Regions from separate parts of the Homo sapiens genome. Here all the other regions are linked to region 1. Evidence: promoter capture Hi-C in human tissues and cell types (Jung and others, 2019). All regions are on one chromosome and are shown on one strand. The core of a region is centred on a gene start or on the middle of the fragment in contact, and the rest is flanking DNA. Distances in the headings are between cores, read along the strand shown. Region 1 holds the start of NPBWR2 (neuropeptides B and W receptor 2). Region 2 holds the start of TNFRSF6B (TNF receptor superfamily member 6b). Region 3 overlaps ZGPAT (zinc finger CCCH-type and G-patch domain containing).

What was found. The method cuts DNA at HindIII sites, captures the fragments that hold promoters and counts their contacts. A contact is called where the count stands out against the background at its distance.
Region 2: the fragment with the promoter of TNFRSF6B here is called in contact with the fragment with the promoter of NPBWR2 in region 1 in 1 of the 25 tissues and cell types used here (dorsolateral prefrontal cortex).
Region 3: a fragment that was not itself captured here is called in contact with the fragment with the promoter of NPBWR2 in region 1 in 4 of the 25 tissues and cell types used here (dorsolateral prefrontal cortex, lymphoblastoid cells, spleen and 1 more).

The regions. Positions count from the first base shown.
Region 1 is chr20:64,104,888-64,109,860 of GRCh38, reverse strand. It overlaps NPBWR2 (neuropeptides B and W receptor 2), which reads left to right and starts at 2,296. Exons shown (of 2, transcript NM_005286.4): 1 at 2,296-2,497; 2 at 2,939-4,973. The coding sequence starts at 3,030. The coding sequence ends at 4,031. RefSeq lists a silencer at 81-264 and an enhancer at 2,248-2,748. The HindIII fragment of the contact is 24,186 bases long and covers 1-4,973 here.
Region 2 is chr20:63,695,402-63,700,374 of GRCh38, reverse strand. TNFRSF6B (TNF receptor superfamily member 6b) reads right to left here and starts at 3,723. Exons shown (of 3, transcript NM_003823.4): 1 at 3,184-3,723; 2 at 2,853-3,047; 3 at 1,691-2,095. The coding sequence starts at 3,607. The coding sequence ends at 1,812. RTEL1 (regulator of telomere elongation helicase 1) reads right to left here. Exons shown (of 35, transcript NM_001283009.2): 34 at 4,725-4,973; 35 at 4,130-4,597. The coding sequence ends at 4,517. RTEL1-TNFRSF6B (RTEL1-TNFRSF6B readthrough (NMD candidate)) reads right to left here. Exons shown (of 38, transcript NR_037882.1): 34 at 4,725-4,973; 35 at 4,521-4,597; 36 at 3,184-3,615; 37 at 2,853-3,047; 38 at 1,677-2,095. It overlaps ARFRP1 (ARF related protein 1), which reads left to right. Exons shown (of 8, transcript NM_001267547.3): 8 at 1-1,728. RefSeq lists enhancers at 734-813, 1-835, 884-933, 2,569-2,618, 4,379-4,428 and 2 more. The HindIII fragment of the contact is 5,085 bases long and covers 1,501-4,973 here.
Region 3 is chr20:63,720,471-63,725,443 of GRCh38, reverse strand. The region is part of intron 2 of ZGPAT (zinc finger CCCH-type and G-patch domain containing); the gene reads right to left. Among named protein-coding and RNA genes, the nearest start is that of LIME1, 14 kb to the left of the region's middle. The HindIII fragment of the contact is 9,604 bases long and covers 1-4,973 here.

The DNA.
Region 1 (4,973 bases), core at 1,047-3,546:
TACCGGTGGAGGGAAGAGGACCCAGACTCGTGGTTGGCTTCAGAGGAAGCCAGACACACAGTGGGATCTTTGCATGGGAAGATTCTGTGCTCTGAGGGATGCCTCTGACACTGGGCTCCCCACTACTGAGGCTTAAGGGAAGACCCTCCTGGAACACCCTGCTCTGAAGAAGGTGTGGGTGGCAGTCGGTATCCTGCAGGGCAAAGACCAGCAGGGGTGCCCAGAGCTCAGGCCACACGGGGGTCACTGGGCAGGCTGCCAGCCAGCCCTGGGGGGCAGAGGAAGGCACCGGCACTAGCCTGGGCCCCTCCCAAAATGCATGGAAGGGAGAGGCCCCCAGCAATGCCCCCAGGGAGGCCCAGAGTCAGGCAGTGTGGCCAGCCCCACCCCAGGACAGCAGCTCGGTGACAGCAGGCCCCCAGGGAGGCCCAGAATCAGGCCAGCGTGGCCAGCCCCACCCCAGGACAGCAGCTCGGTGACAGCAGGCCTGGGACATTCTCCCAGTGCCCGGTGCTGAGGCCATGGTCGGCCGCTCCCCAGCCAAGACCAGTGACCGCCTGGCCCAGCCCACACCCTGGTCAATGCCTGGGCCACCACATGCCAGGCCTGGCCTCTCTGTGTCACGCCTCTGGTTTCCAGGAGCTGTGAACTGACCCCTCCCGACCCCACGAACACCCCAAATCACAAAATTCAGCCCCAATGCACCCTCTCCTCACGGCTGCTAATCACCATCCCCTGACCTTGTGGGCGTCAAGCTCCACTTATGTGACAAACTGTGGCTACAAGCCCCACGCTCCCTCGAGACACACCCACAGATCCCCCCCACCGCCATCCCCAAACTGGCTGAAGAGGAGTGTGAGATATCTCAGCAGGGTTCCCTGACCCCGGACTCAACATCCACATGGCACAGCCCATAGAAGGGTAGCTCGGGGCCCACCCACAGTGTACCCTCAGGCTGGCGACATCAGGGTACTCAGGGCGACTGCCCAGGCTCCTGTCCTAACCAATAGACTTGACAGAGCAACTCTCAGGAAAGAAGGCCGACCATGAGTGTGCGGTGACATCCTTGCAACCCCACAGGCAGCGGGCACAGTCTCGATGGGCAGACACATCTCCCCAGACTGAAAACACACAGTGACCAGGCACGGTGGGTCATGGCTATAACCTGAGCACTTTGGGAGGCTGAGGTAGAGGCTGAAGCTCAGGAGATCGAGACCAGCCTGGGCAACATGGTGAAACCCCGTCTCTACAAAAAAAAACACAAAAATTAGCCAGGCATGGTGGCACATGCCTGTAGTCCCAGCTACTTGAGAGGCTGAGGTGGGAGGATCACCTGAGCCCAGGGAGGTCAGGGCTGCAGTGAGCCATGATAGTGCCACTGCACCCCAGCCTGGGTGACAGGGCAAGACCCTGTCTCAAAAAAGAAGAAAGGAAAGAAAACACAGACCCTCTGACCCAACACGTCTCCGCTGAGGAGCGGCTCTGAGACTGGCGACTGCTCGTGTCAGCTGTGGCGTTGCCTGCAAAGCAGGTCCAGATGCGGCCGAGCTGCACACACACGGGTTGGATAAGCCAGGGTGCGTCCAGCAAGGAAGAAAAGCAGGGAGAAGGGAAGGACTTAAAGACCAACCCAGAGCAGAGTGTGATGCTCACCACCTCTGCAGGACGGCGGGAGAGTTACGTGTCAGCGTGAGAACGTCTTCTCTGCAGCCTTTCACAGCTTGCCTAGGCTGAGTTCCTCTTTTAGCAAAAGACAAAAAAAGAAGGTGGGTTGCCTATGGCCAACAAGTTCTGCTTCCACATGAGGGCATACAGACCCCCCAGATGCCCACACTCAGCCAAGGACATGTAGACCCACTCAGATACAACGCAGAGCTCACCCACAGAGACCCCCATACAGGCAGACACAGGCCCACACACGTACATGTCCTAACTGGCACACACACACAGGAACACACCATGTACACACACAGGGTGGGGCAGGAGACCCACCAAGACACCCATGTTCACAGATAAGGGTGCCCAGGCCCACAGTGACTCCCGGACAGAGGCACAGATGCCTTCAGTGCCCTCTGCCCGAAGACCTGGGCACACCCAGAGGCCCCTGCATGGAGTCCCTTCCTGACACACAGGCGCACACGTGCCTCAGCCGCCCACTGAGGAGTCTGCCTGGGTAAGTGAATGCTGAGGAGACCCTGGGACAGCCGACTGCAGGCGCTACTGCAGCTCAGGGGAAGGTGGGGCCTGCCTTCCGGGCTCCACGTCAGCAAGGGGGATCCGCCTCCCTCCCTCACCAGCATCAGCACTGACACCAGGCTGGGAACCTCGCAGCCGGGGCTGAGGCAGCCAGCAGGGCAGGTCTTGAAACTCCTGAAACCTCAGCTGGAGGTCTGTCAGTGAGGACCACACCTCGCCCTCCATCCCTGCGACTGCCTGTACTGGCCAAAACCAGGAACACACCAAGGCTACCAACTTCTGGACTCGAAGCACTGGACAGGTCAGTGGAGAGAAGAGTAGCTGGACCAGCAGGGTCTGCAGCATCTCTCGGGAGGGTGTGAGGGAGGGTGCAGACTCCAAGACCCCTGAGGGAAGGACCTTCAGATTCAAGGGAGCCAGAGATGAGCTTGGGAGGTGTGTTTCCAAAGGGACCGCTTGATTCTACGCAGCCCGTGCATCTGCGGGTTGCTGGGGCAGGGACGGATCCACATCTCTTCCCAGGAGGGTGGCCAGCAGCTGCTCTCTGCGGGAGGAGGGAACTGATCTGCTGAAGTCTCACCAGGAAGAGGCGGGAGGAGGCCCCCACACACCCCACCAGGCTCCCTCTGGCCCCATGTCCTTGACCTGGCAAAGTGGCCGCAGTCTCTGCCAGAGAACCTGGAGTGGCTGTGCCCTAACAGACGGCCGGATCTCAAAGTCTCTGGTTGTTTTTCTTTCCTAGAATCCAGCCCAAGGAGGCCCCCAACCAGATACCCAACTCCAAGGCACCTCCCACCTGCCCAGGGCGCAAATCGTCAACGGTCCCAGCTACAATGCAGGCCGCTGGGCACCCAGAGCCCCTTGACAGCAGGGGCTCCTTCTCCCTCCCCACGATGGGTGCCAACGTCTCTCAGGACAATGGCACTGGCCACAATGCCACCTTCTCCGAGCCACTGCCGTTCCTCTATGTGCTCCTGCCCGCCGTGTACTCCGGGATCTGTGCTGTGGGGCTGACTGGCAACACGGCCGTCATCCTTGTAATCCTAAGGGCGCCCAAGATGAAGACGGTGACCAACGTGTTCATCCTGAACCTGGCCGTCGCCGACGGGCTCTTCACGCTGGTACTGCCCGTCAACATCGCGGAGCACCTGCTGCAGTACTGGCCCTTCGGGGAGCTGCTCTGCAAGCTGGTGCTGGCCGTCGACCACTACAACATCTTCTCCAGCATCTACTTCCTAGCCGTGATGAGCGTGGACCGATACCTGGTGGTGCTGGCCACCGTGAGGTCCCGCCACATGCCCTGGCGCACCTACCGGGGGGCGAAGGTCGCCAGCCTGTGTGTCTGGCTGGGCGTCACGGTCCTGGTTCTGCCCTTCTTCTCTTTCGCTGGCGTCTACAGCAACGAGCTGCAGGTCCCAAGCTGTGGGCTGAGCTTCCCGTGGCCCGAGCAGGTCTGGTTCAAGGCCAGCCGTGTCTACACGTTGGTCCTGGGCTTCGTGCTGCCCGTGTGCACCATCTGTGTGCTCTACACAGACCTCCTGCGCAGGCTGCGGGCCGTGCGGCTCCGCTCTGGAGCCAAGGCTCTAGGCAAGGCCAGGCGGAAGGTGACCGTCCTGGTCCTCGTCGTGCTGGCCGTGTGCCTCCTCTGCTGGACGCCCTTCCACCTGGCCTCTGTCGTGGCCCTGACCACGGACCTGCCCCAGACCCCACTGGTCATCAGTATGTCCTACGTCATCACCAGCCTCAGCTACGCCAACTCGTGCCTGAACCCCTTCCTCTACGCCTTTCTAGATGACAACTTCCGGAAGAACTTCCGCAGCATATTGCGGTGCTGAAGGGCCTGGGCACCATCACCCCCATCATCATGCCCATCATCACCCCCCATCATCATCACGCCCATCATCATCATGCCCACACCCCCATCAGGCCCACCCCCCCCCACCCCCACCACCACCCCCACCATCACCCCCACCACCACCCCCATCATCACGCCCATCATCATGCCCACCCCCATCACATCCACCATCACGCCCACCCCCATCACCCCCACCCCCACCATCACGCCCACCATCACCCCCACCCCCACCCCCACCCCCATCATCACGCCCACCCCCCCCACCACCCCCACCATCACCCCCATCATCACGCCCACCCCCACCCAGTTCCGGCTGTCTCTTTCAGGGGACGCCCGGCCTGTTCACATCCCAGTGCTGTCCTCTCCACGCAAGGAGACACAGACCCTCACACGCTGGCCACCAGACCTACAGACAGCCGTGGGCATATACCTCCCATGTCTCTGCTTCCTGGACAGCCCCTGGGTGGACAGCAGCAGGGATCCAGGTCCTGGCAGAGGCCCCCACACAGCAAGCATCCCGGGCCCACTTACCCACGAGAGACAGACAGATGGACAAGCCCCTTGGAAGGCTCTGGGACTCAGGATCCCTAATGACAGTGGTCGGGAGGGGAGGGAACCTGAACTGTGATCTTGACCTGGGCCACGTTACATAGTCTCTCCCCAAGATGGGGCCGGGGGGTGGTAAGTGCGGGCACCTCAGGCAGCAGCGATGCTGTGTTGCTGCAAAGGCGGACACCTGCACCGCATGAGACCCAGAAATCCACTCTCGTGGCCTGAAGCCCAAGTGGAGTTCCAGCAGGAGGCCCAGCCCCGCCGTGCCCATGTGCCATGGCCTGTGCTGCTGTGTTCCCCCTGCTGTGGCCGACGGTCCTTGCCATGGCCTGTACCCGCCCTGCTGTGTCCGACAGTCCTCTCCATGGCC
Region 2 (4,973 bases), core at 2,474-4,973, 410 kb after region 1:
ATGCTGCTGATCTGGGGGGTGGGTTTGCTTTGCTTTGGGGTTCTTCTATTTACTTTGTTTTCTCGAAGACAAACTTTCCTCTATGTCTGGAAAAGCGTAGGCATCCGGAGGCTTTGGAGGGGAGTCTGGCAGCCCGGCTGGCCCAGGCCCTGCAGCGGCAGCCTTTCCACAGGGCGCAGCGGCGGCCTTTCGAGGCCCTTTCTGGGGGGTCTGAGGGAGACCTGGTTGGGAATTGGGGCTCCAGTGCTCAGGCTGGCTTGGGCTGCATGAGGACAGCCCTGTGGGACCCTCGGGAGACCCCGTGGCTGTCTCCGCCCCATCGAGGAGGAGGCCCGTCAGCCATGGCTGCCATCTGGCTTCTGCCCTGTGACCCCGTGACCCCGTGACCCCGGAAGTGGTCTGGGGCTGATCTTGCCTTGAGGAAGACCCAGGCCATGTTCCCAAAGGCCAGCGGGGGCCCTGGATTGTGATGCAGCCTCGGGACAGGGCTGAGGCCTGCGGGGGAAGACCTATACCCCACGCCTGGGCCTGGCTTCACCTCACCCTAATCCCCCGGGAGGGAGCTGACTGATGCAAAAAGCTGAGGGGGCCTGCTGGGAGTGGCTGTTTTTATGCCCCAGCCCCGCAAGTTGGGGAGTGTTTGTGGGGGTCCAGAGCCCTCCCCCAGCCAGGAGAGAACCTCCCGGAGGGGTTCTCTGTGGGGCCCTGTGTCCCCTGCTCGGGAGTAAGGCTGGTCCTGGGGTCCTCCCTGCACGGACCCCACTGGGCCTGCCGAGTGCTGTGTTCTTCCTCAGTCTGGCTGTGGGCAGGAGCGGCCTGCCCAGTGTCACCCAGGGTGAGTGCAAAATAAAGACGGCGAGTGTGGCTCTGTCCATCCCTTCCCTCCTGGAGGGTGGAGGCTCCTGGCTGTTGGACACGGTGATGGTGTTACTGGGCTGCTCAGGGGCTGGTGGGCAGGTGAGGGGCTCCCCAGGTGGGCCTGGAGAGTCCAGGCACTCCCTTCCTGCGGATGTGGGAAGGACATGGGGTCCTGGGAGGAGCTGCTGGGAAGGGGCATGAGTCAGGGTGGGGGTGGCGCAGCAGCTGCGGGGCTGTGACTCACAGGAGTCGGGCCCTGGAAGTCCCCGCGTCCTCTCCAGGGGACCCTGTGTGTGTTCTGCAGGTTGGTTCCCAGGACCTGGGGGGGACCTCCAGCCCCGGGAACCTGGCCGTGCTGGGGAGGCGAGTGGCTGGTGCAGCCCCCCGGTTGCTCTGGGTGCATCGGGAGGCTTCAGAGCCTGCCCCAGAGAGGGAGAAGCTTCACTTCCCGGAAAGCATGGGAGGCCTGGAGGAGGTCTTTGGCAGGTCCCCTCTCGGGAAATCCCCTGTGAGTTGGGAGTGGGAGGAATTCATAAGTGGGGGGTTAGTGTGGGCCCCGGCGACTAGGGCTGGCCTGAGCCCCATCCTGTTCTTCCAGCAATGATACCCTCCCAGGCCCTGACCCTCGCTGAGCTTCAGGGGCCCCTGCCACGTGCCACAGCCACTGGGGGCAGAGGTGGCACTCCCCACTGATCCTCCCAGGGAGGGTCTGTCTGAGGTAGGGGAAGCCCCGGGCAGCAGTTCTGATGGCAGGCAGCCTGAGGGATCTGGGCACAGCGGGCGGCTCAGGTGTCCCCGGCTGCCCTCCCAGTAGCTGTGCAACTACAACCAGTTTTATGAAAAAGCTTTATAAAAATAAGCTTTAAGAAACCTCATTTCTTCTATTTAAAAAAAAGCCTCTTTCAGTGCAAGTGGGGTGCCAAGGATGTAGAATAAATAAGAGGGGGCCAGGATCAGTGCACAGGGAGGAAGCGCTCACGGACGCTCCGCTCCAGCCCGGGCATCCTGGCCACGCGCAGCGCCTGCAGCAGCCGCACCAGCAGCGCCCCGTCCTGCGCCCCCAGGAGCTCCGTGAGCCGCCGACGCAGCTTCAGCTGCAAGGCCGCGCGGCCCGCCCTTGGTGTCGGACCCCAGCCCTCCGGGGCCTCGAGGGCCTGCAGCAGCCGCTGCAGCCTCTTGATGGAGATGTCCTGGAAAGCCACAAAGTCGATGACGGCACGCTCACACTCCTCAGCTCCTGCAGTGGGGTGGGGAGGCAGCGGTCCGATCATTTCACCCACACACACTGGCGGGGGCTGCCAGGTACCCTGCTTTCTGGGCCCCACTCGGGGGGTTTGCAGGAGAGAGAAATCCCTGTGCAGTGAGCCGTGCTGGAGAGGGCAGTGCAACGATGGGGACTGGAGAAGGGGCAGGAGCCTTCGGTCAGAGAGCTGGAGCAAAGGCCTAGGGGGCAGGAGCGGCCACTCGGACCTTGGCTGCAAGAGGCAAGGGGGCCCAGGCAAGGGCTTGGGGCTCCTGGGCCATCGGAAGGGGCGAGTTGGGACCTGCAGATGGACCGGACCTGACTTGATGTTAAGGGGGTCACTTCCCCCTGTGACTTCTCAACAGTGGTTAACATTGGGCCTCGGTTTCCCCATGTCAGAGGAGGCAGCCACCTTCCTCTCAGGCAGTTAGGAGAGTTACCATCAGGCCTCGGTTTCCCCGTGTCAGAGGAGCCAGCCACCTTCCCCTCGGGCAGTTAGGAGATTGCTGCCCACTTTCCCAGAGCTCCCCAGGGGAGGCTGTGCCCTGGCTCAGATCCAAATTCTCAGCCACCCCTGAGAGGGCAGACTTGGTGGGGATCTAGTGGAGGGACCCCTGACCCCTCAAATCCACTGTGGCCCCTTCCCAGAGCCAGCTGGCATGCCTCAGGCTAGATGCACGTGCAGGGGCAGGAGTGAGGGCACAAGTGGGCCTGGCCTGCAGTGTGCTGCCCCCTCAGGCCTCTGGCTCACCTGGTACCCTGGTGCTGAGGGGGAAGCCAGTGCAGCTGGTGCACAGGGTGTCATGGGAGGAAGAGCCTGGCACATTGAGGGCCAGGCCCAGGGCCGTGCAGTTGCGGTGGGGCTGGCACTGCTCTGAGCTGGAGCTGCTGGCTGAGAAGGTGCCTGGGGGGCACGGCTGGCACTGCGTGTTCTGGCTGGGGGTGCCTGCAGCCAGGAGGGAAGAACAGGGTCAGGGGAACTGGTGTCCTAGCTCAGGGTGCAAGGCTGGGACCAGCAACCTGACCCCTGCCACACCTCCGGCCACCACTCCTGGGGGCCCCTCCCCTCGCCCAGCTCTCACCCGGGGCAATCACGCCGGCACCAGGTGGACACGATGCGTGCTCCAAGCAGAAACCAGCGTGCGCGAAGAAGCCGGTGCGGCAGCGGCAGGCACGGTTGTGGGTGGCGTGGCAAGCCCGTGCCTCCTCCTCACGCTCCCCGCAGAGGACGTTGCAGTAGCGGCAGCGCTCTAGGTAGTTCCAGAACTGCGTGTAGTGGCGCGGTGGACACGGGCCACACGTCGTGGGGCTGTCTCGGCGGCACGGCCGCTGCACAAAGGTGCCTGGGGGGCACTGGGCGCACACCAGCCGCTCCCCTGTCTCTGCGTCCCGCCAGGGGTAGGTGGGTGTTTCTGCCACTCCGCGTACAGCCGGCACCGGCAGCAGGGCAGGCAGCGCCAACACCAGGCACAGCAGCGACAGGCCTGGCCCCTCCAGCGCCCTCATGGTCCTTGCTGGAGCAGGGAGAGCGCGGCTCAGCGCGGACACAGGACCCTGCTGTGCCTGACCGACATGCCACCTCCTTTGCCCCCGGTCCGCCTGCGGAGGGGCCGCCCAAGTCCAGAAGCCCATCCTGCTGCTGCCCTACATATATGGGCGGGGAGAGGGCTGGGCCAGCCTCGCCACGCCCCATAGGAACCCCTCCCTCCCCAGGCAGCCCCCCTCACCCACCTGGTACCATCCCTCCCCAGAGCTCAGTCCAAGGGTGGTTCTGGGAGGGGCCTCACCAGCCAGGGAGCTGCCCTCCTCAGCACCTGGGGCAGCTCCCAACCCAGAGACCAGCCCAGGCAGCCTGGTGTGTCGGTGGATCCCCTACCAACTGCAGCTTGGCTGCGGCTGTGAGGATGAGGGCAGGGCTGAGCCCACCGTGGAGGAAGTACAGTGTCACATGGCAGGCTGGGAGGGGCCTCTGCCAACTCCCTGTCCCTCAACTCCCACCACCAAGCCCAGGCCACGAAGACACCGTCCTGGGCACTGCCAGCAGCTTTATTAGAGAGCCCTGTCCCCTGATTAAAAGTGGACACGTGCCCACGGGGGTCTCCTCCTTCCCGGTGAGGGGCTCAGCTGGGGTGCCCCTGTGGCACCACTCACAGGCCAGGAGCCAGGGAAGTTCTGGGGAAGCACTTTCCCAGAAACCCACCCCAGACCCCAAGGTAGCTCAGGGCTTCTCAGAGGCAGGCCCAGATCCGGTCCCACCGCAGGGACCAACCATGGGCCCCGCCTGCCTGAGGCCTGCAGCGGGCCAAGCCGGCTGGCATGGGCTGGCCTATTCTGTTGGGTGGGTTCTTGGCCCACCAGAGCTGGACAGGCAGGTGATCAAGCCACGTTGGGTGTGCTGGGGGCCTCCGTGGGCACTCACTGGGGCTCTGGCCAGAAGACCTGCATGACGCTCTGCTTCCTGGAGGCGGTGTGGCAGGCTGGGCACATCCTAGAGGCCTGTGAGACAACCGGCCCACTGCACACGTCTGCCAGGCGTTGCCACCAGGACAAGGGCCTGCCCTTTCCCCCTCAGCCCATCACCTGGGGCTACACCCAGCAGGAACTGTAGTGGCCAGGCACCAACCTGAAGGTGCCGTTGCCAGCAGGCTTGGCAGCGCTGGAAGTCACAGGCAGGGCACTGGAAGGGCACCACGTCCTCTGCCCCACAGCCCTGGCACACACAGCCTGCTGAGAGGGGCCCGCCCGGAGCTCCCGTGGCCTGCTGCCCAGCGATGTCTCTCCCATGAGGCTCACCCCACTCAGATGCTGCAGGCCCGTGGGGAGGTCCTGAGGACTGGCTGGGACCTGCATCCTCACCGCCCGCCCCCACAGT
Region 3 (4,973 bases), core at 748-3,247, 380 kb after region 1:
CCAGAAGGTAGCATGATGACACTTTTAAACACTGAAAAGAATGATCAATTAATAATTCTATAGCCAGCTAAACTATCCTTCAAAAAATGAAGCTGAAATAAAGACATTCCCAAATAAACACTGAATTGGTTGCTAGCAAGCCTGTCCTACAAGAAATTCTAGCCGGGCGCGGTGGCTCACGCCTGTAATCCCAGCACTTTGGGAGGCCAAGGCGGGCGGATCACGAGGTCAGGAGATCAAGACCATCCTGGCTAACACGGTGAAACCCCATCTCTCCTAAAAATACAAAAAATTAGGTGGGCGTGGTGGCAGGCGCCTGTAATCCCAGCTACTCGGGAGGCTGAGGCAGGAGAATGGCGTGAACCCGGGAGGCGGAGCTCGCAGTGAGCCGAGATCGTGCCACTGCACTCCAGCCTGGGAAACAAGAGCGAGACCCCATCTCAAAAAAAAAAAAAAAAAGAAATTCTAAATGGGCTGGGCGTGGTGGCTCATGGTAATCCCAGCATTTTGGGAGGCCAGGACAGGCAGATCATGAGGTCATGAATTCGAGACCAGCCTGGCCAACATAGTGAAACCCTGTCTCTACTAAAAATACCAAAAAAATTGGCTGGGGGTGGTGGCAGGTGCCTGCAGTCTCAGCTACTTGGGAGGCTGAGGCAGGAAAATCACTCTAACCAGGGAGGCAGAGGTTGCAGTGATCTGAGACTGCACCATTGCACTCCAGCCTGGGCAACACAGTGAGACTTTGTCTCAAAAAAAAAAAAAAAAAATTCTAAATGAAGTTCTTCAGACTAAAAGGAAATGACACTAGACAGTAACTCAAATTCACAGGAAAGAAAAAGGGGCAAAAAAAAGAAAGGTAAAATATGGATGATACAAAAAAACAAGTATACTTTTTTTCTCTTTGAATTTCTTTCTTTTTTAAATAGAGATGGAGTCTCGCTATGTTGCCCAGGCTGGTGTTGAACTCCTGGCCTCAAGTGATCCTCCTGCCTTGGCCTCCCAAGGCTTTGGGATTACAGGCATGAACCACAGTGTCCAGATCTTAATTTCTTTTCTTTTCTTTTTTTTTTTTTTTTTAGGCAGAGTCTCGCTCTGTCATCTAGGCTGTAATGCAGTGGTGCGATCTTGCTCACTGCAACCTCCGCTTCCCAGGTTCAAGCGATTCTCTTGCCTCAGCCTCCCGAGTAGCTGGGATTACAGACACCCACCACCACACCCGGCTACTTTTTGTATTTTTAGTAGAGACGGGGTTTCACCATGTTGGCCAGGCTGGTCTTAAACTCCTGACCTCCGGTGATCCACTCACCTCAGCCTCCCAAAGTGCTGGGATTAGAGATAAAAGCCACCATTCCTAGTCCCTTTACTTCTGAGATAAGATCTGCACCCAGGCTGGAGTGCAGTGGCACAATCTCAGCTCACTGCAGCCTTGACTTCCCAGGCTCAAGTGATCCTCCCACCTTAGCTGGGATCCTCCCCCAAATAGCTGGGACTACAGGCGCGTGCCACCATGCCAGACTAATTTTTTGTAATTTTGGTGGAGATGGGTTTCGTCATGTTGCCCAGGCTGGTCTCCAACTCCCTGGCTCAGGCGATCTGCCCACCTCAGCCCCCAAAAGTGCTGGAGTTAAAGGCATAAGCCACTGCCTCCAGGCAACTTCTTTCAAAATACTTTTGAAGCAATAATTATAACGCTGAAGAGCTGAAGTTATAACATACATAAATGTATATATGGCAATAATACATGAAGGAGAAGAGGGGATGGAGCTATGTCAGAGGAGAAGGGAGGATGGAGCTATGTCAGAGGACAAGGGAGGATGGAACTATGTCAGAGGAGAAGGGAGGATGGAGCTATGTCAGAGGAGAAGGGAGGATGGAGCTATGTCAGAGGAGAAGGGAGGATGGAGCTATGTCAGAGGAGAAGGGAGGATGGAGCTATGTCAGAGGAGAAGGGAGGATGGAGCTATGTCAGAGGAGAAGGGAGGATGGAGCTATGCCAGAGGAGAAGGGAGGATGGAGCTGTGTCATAGGAGAAGGGAGGATGGAGCTGTGTCATAGGAGAAGGGAGGATGGAGCTGTGTCATAGGAGAAGGGAGGATGGAGCTGTGTCATAGGAGAAGGGAGGATGGAGCTGTGTCATAGGAGAAGGGAGGATGGAGCTATGCCAGAGGAGAAGGGAGGATGGAGCTGTGTCAGAGGAGAAGGGAGGATGGAGCTATGACACAGGAGAAGGGAGGATGGAGCTATGTCAGAGGAGAAGGGAGGATGGAGCTGTGTCATAGGAGAAGGGAGGATGGAGCTATGTCAGAGGAGAAGGGAGGATGGAGCTGTGTCATAGGAGAAGGGAGGATGGAGCTATGCCAGAGGAGAAGGGAGGACGTCATAGGAGGAGGGAGGATGGAACTATGTCAGAGGAAAAGGGAGGTTGGGACTGTGCTATAGGAAAATGGAGGGGGAACTATGTCATAGTACAACGGAAGTAGATCTATGTTATAGACACGTTGCCATACTTAGGCTCAGTGCAGTCGCTCACACCTGTAATCCCAGCACTTTGGGAGGCCAAGATGGGCGGATCACCTGAGGTCAGCAGTTCGAGACCAGCCTGACCAACATGGTGAAACCTCATCTCTACTAAAAATACAAAATTAGCCGGGTGTGGTGGGGGTGCCTGTAGTCCCAGCTACTCAGGAGGCTGAGGCAGGAGAATGGCGTGAACCTGGGAGGCGGAGGTTGCAGTGAGCCGAGATCACACCATTGCACTCCAGCCTGGGTGACAGAGTGAAACTCCATAAAAAAAAAAATGCTGTACTTTAAGTGTTAAGTTAGTAATAATCTGAAGTACATTGTGGTAAGTTAAAGATGTACATTGTCATCTCTAGAGCAACCACTAAGAAAATAACTTAAAACAGCATAGCTAAAAATTCAGCAACAGAGCTGGATATCACCAAAATGATGGAGTTGGCAGCTCCAAAGATCCGTCTCTCCAGCAAAGCAACTATTCTGCTGTCAAAACTGTCACAATAAACTTTTTTCTATTCAGCTGTCAAAACTGTCACAATAAACTTTTTTCTATTAAACTGTCAAAACCTCCCAATAAACTTTTCTGTAACTCTGGTGTCTACGAACCAGATGACTGCTCAATGAAGTAAGACCCTGCTAAATTTCAGGAGGACAGCTGGGCTATTTCTGCTCAGCCACTACTACCAGCTCACATGTAGCCATGGGGAAGGCAACCTGTATTTCTGATGTGGCTTGCTGGTGTCAGAAGGGATGATACAGACCTTTTCTCAAGGAATCCTGCTTATGCATTTGGATCTTTCTAGTGTCTCCCTGAAGGGCTTGCCTTTGTTTCACCCCCTCGAACTCTCTCAGGGCTGGGGCAGCCTCCAGGGTCGTGCTGTTGATGGCATTTTTTTTTTTTTTTTTTCCCCGAGATGGAGTCTCACTCTGTCGCCCAGGCTGGAGTGCAATGGCACGATCTCAGCTCACTGCAACCTCCGCCTCCCAGGCTCAAGCAATTCTCCTGCTTCAGCCTCCCGAGTAGCTGAGATTACAGGCACCCACCACGCCCAGCTAATTTTTGTATTTTTACTAGAGACGGGGCTTCACCATGTTGGCCAGGCTGGTCTCGAACTCCTGACCTCAAGCAATTCACCCGCCTCGGCCTCCCAAAGTGCTGGGATAACAGGTATGAGCCACCGCGCCTGGCCTGAAGGCATTTACAGGTAGATACTACCTGAAGTTGTGGGGGAGGGACAACAACAGATGGGCAAAGAGCTGACAGAAAAGCCTAGGAAGGAAGAGGCTGGGAAAAGAGCTACATGAAGGTCTAAGGGCTTTGGAAAGCTCCTGTTCATGCTTGGAAATCCAGAAGGCCATGCACACAGCTGGGGCTAGACAGGGGCTCAGAAACACCTGAGGAGGCCCTCAACTTTCACCTCTGGTTCATCCTTAGGCTCCATGGGAGCAAGAAGTAAAGGCTGAGGAAAAGCCGTGAACAGCCTGGCGGACACTGAAGGACTTGCCCCAGTACAGAGGCAACCTGGAAAGGATGGAAGACACTCTTTATCCTTTTTTTTTTTTTTTTTATTTGAGACAGAGTCTCGCTCTGTTGCCCAGGCTGGAGTGCAATGGCGCAATCTCAGCTCACTGCAACCTCCGCCCCCTGGGTTGAAGCGATTCTCCTGCCTCAGTCTTCCCAGTAGCTGGGACTACAGGCAGGTGCCACCATGCCCGGTTAATTTTTGTATTTTTAGTAGAGACAGGGTTTCACCATACTGGCCAGGCTGATCTTAAACTCCTGACCTCAAGTGATCCACCCGCCTCCACTTCCCAAAGTCCTAGCATTACAGGCGTGAGCCACTGCGCCCGGCCTCTTTATCCTTTTTGCCACTAGATATTTAAAGAAATCTCTTTCAAAGCACAAGCTAACCACTAACCTAAAAGAACAGAAACAAGCACCCCTGACAGAATATAATCTTTATTTAAAAAGGTCAGGAAAGTAACTAAACAAACGAGAAACGACAATCCACAACAAACAGCAACAATGAACCCTGCAGAGGGCGGAGGATCTGATTTTCAAAGTAACCACATTATCATCTTCAAATTGTGCAGGTTTCAACAAAAAATTACAAGGCATGCAAAGAAACAAGAAAGTGTGGCCCATTCACCGGAAATAAAGAAATTAACAGGCCGGGTGCGGTGGCTCACACCTGTAATCTCAACACCTTGGGAGGCCAAGGTGGGATGACTGCTTGAGCCCAGGAGTTCAAGACCAGTCAGAGAAATGTAGCAAGACCCTGTGTCTAAAACAGTAACAACACAACCAGCCAGGCATGGTGGCACATGCTTGTAGTTCTAGCTACTCAGGAGACTAAGGTGGGAGACTCACTTAAGCCTGGACGGTTAAGGCTGCAGTGTGCCAGGGTTGTGCCACTGCACTACAGCCTGGGTGAGAGAGGGAGACTTTGTCT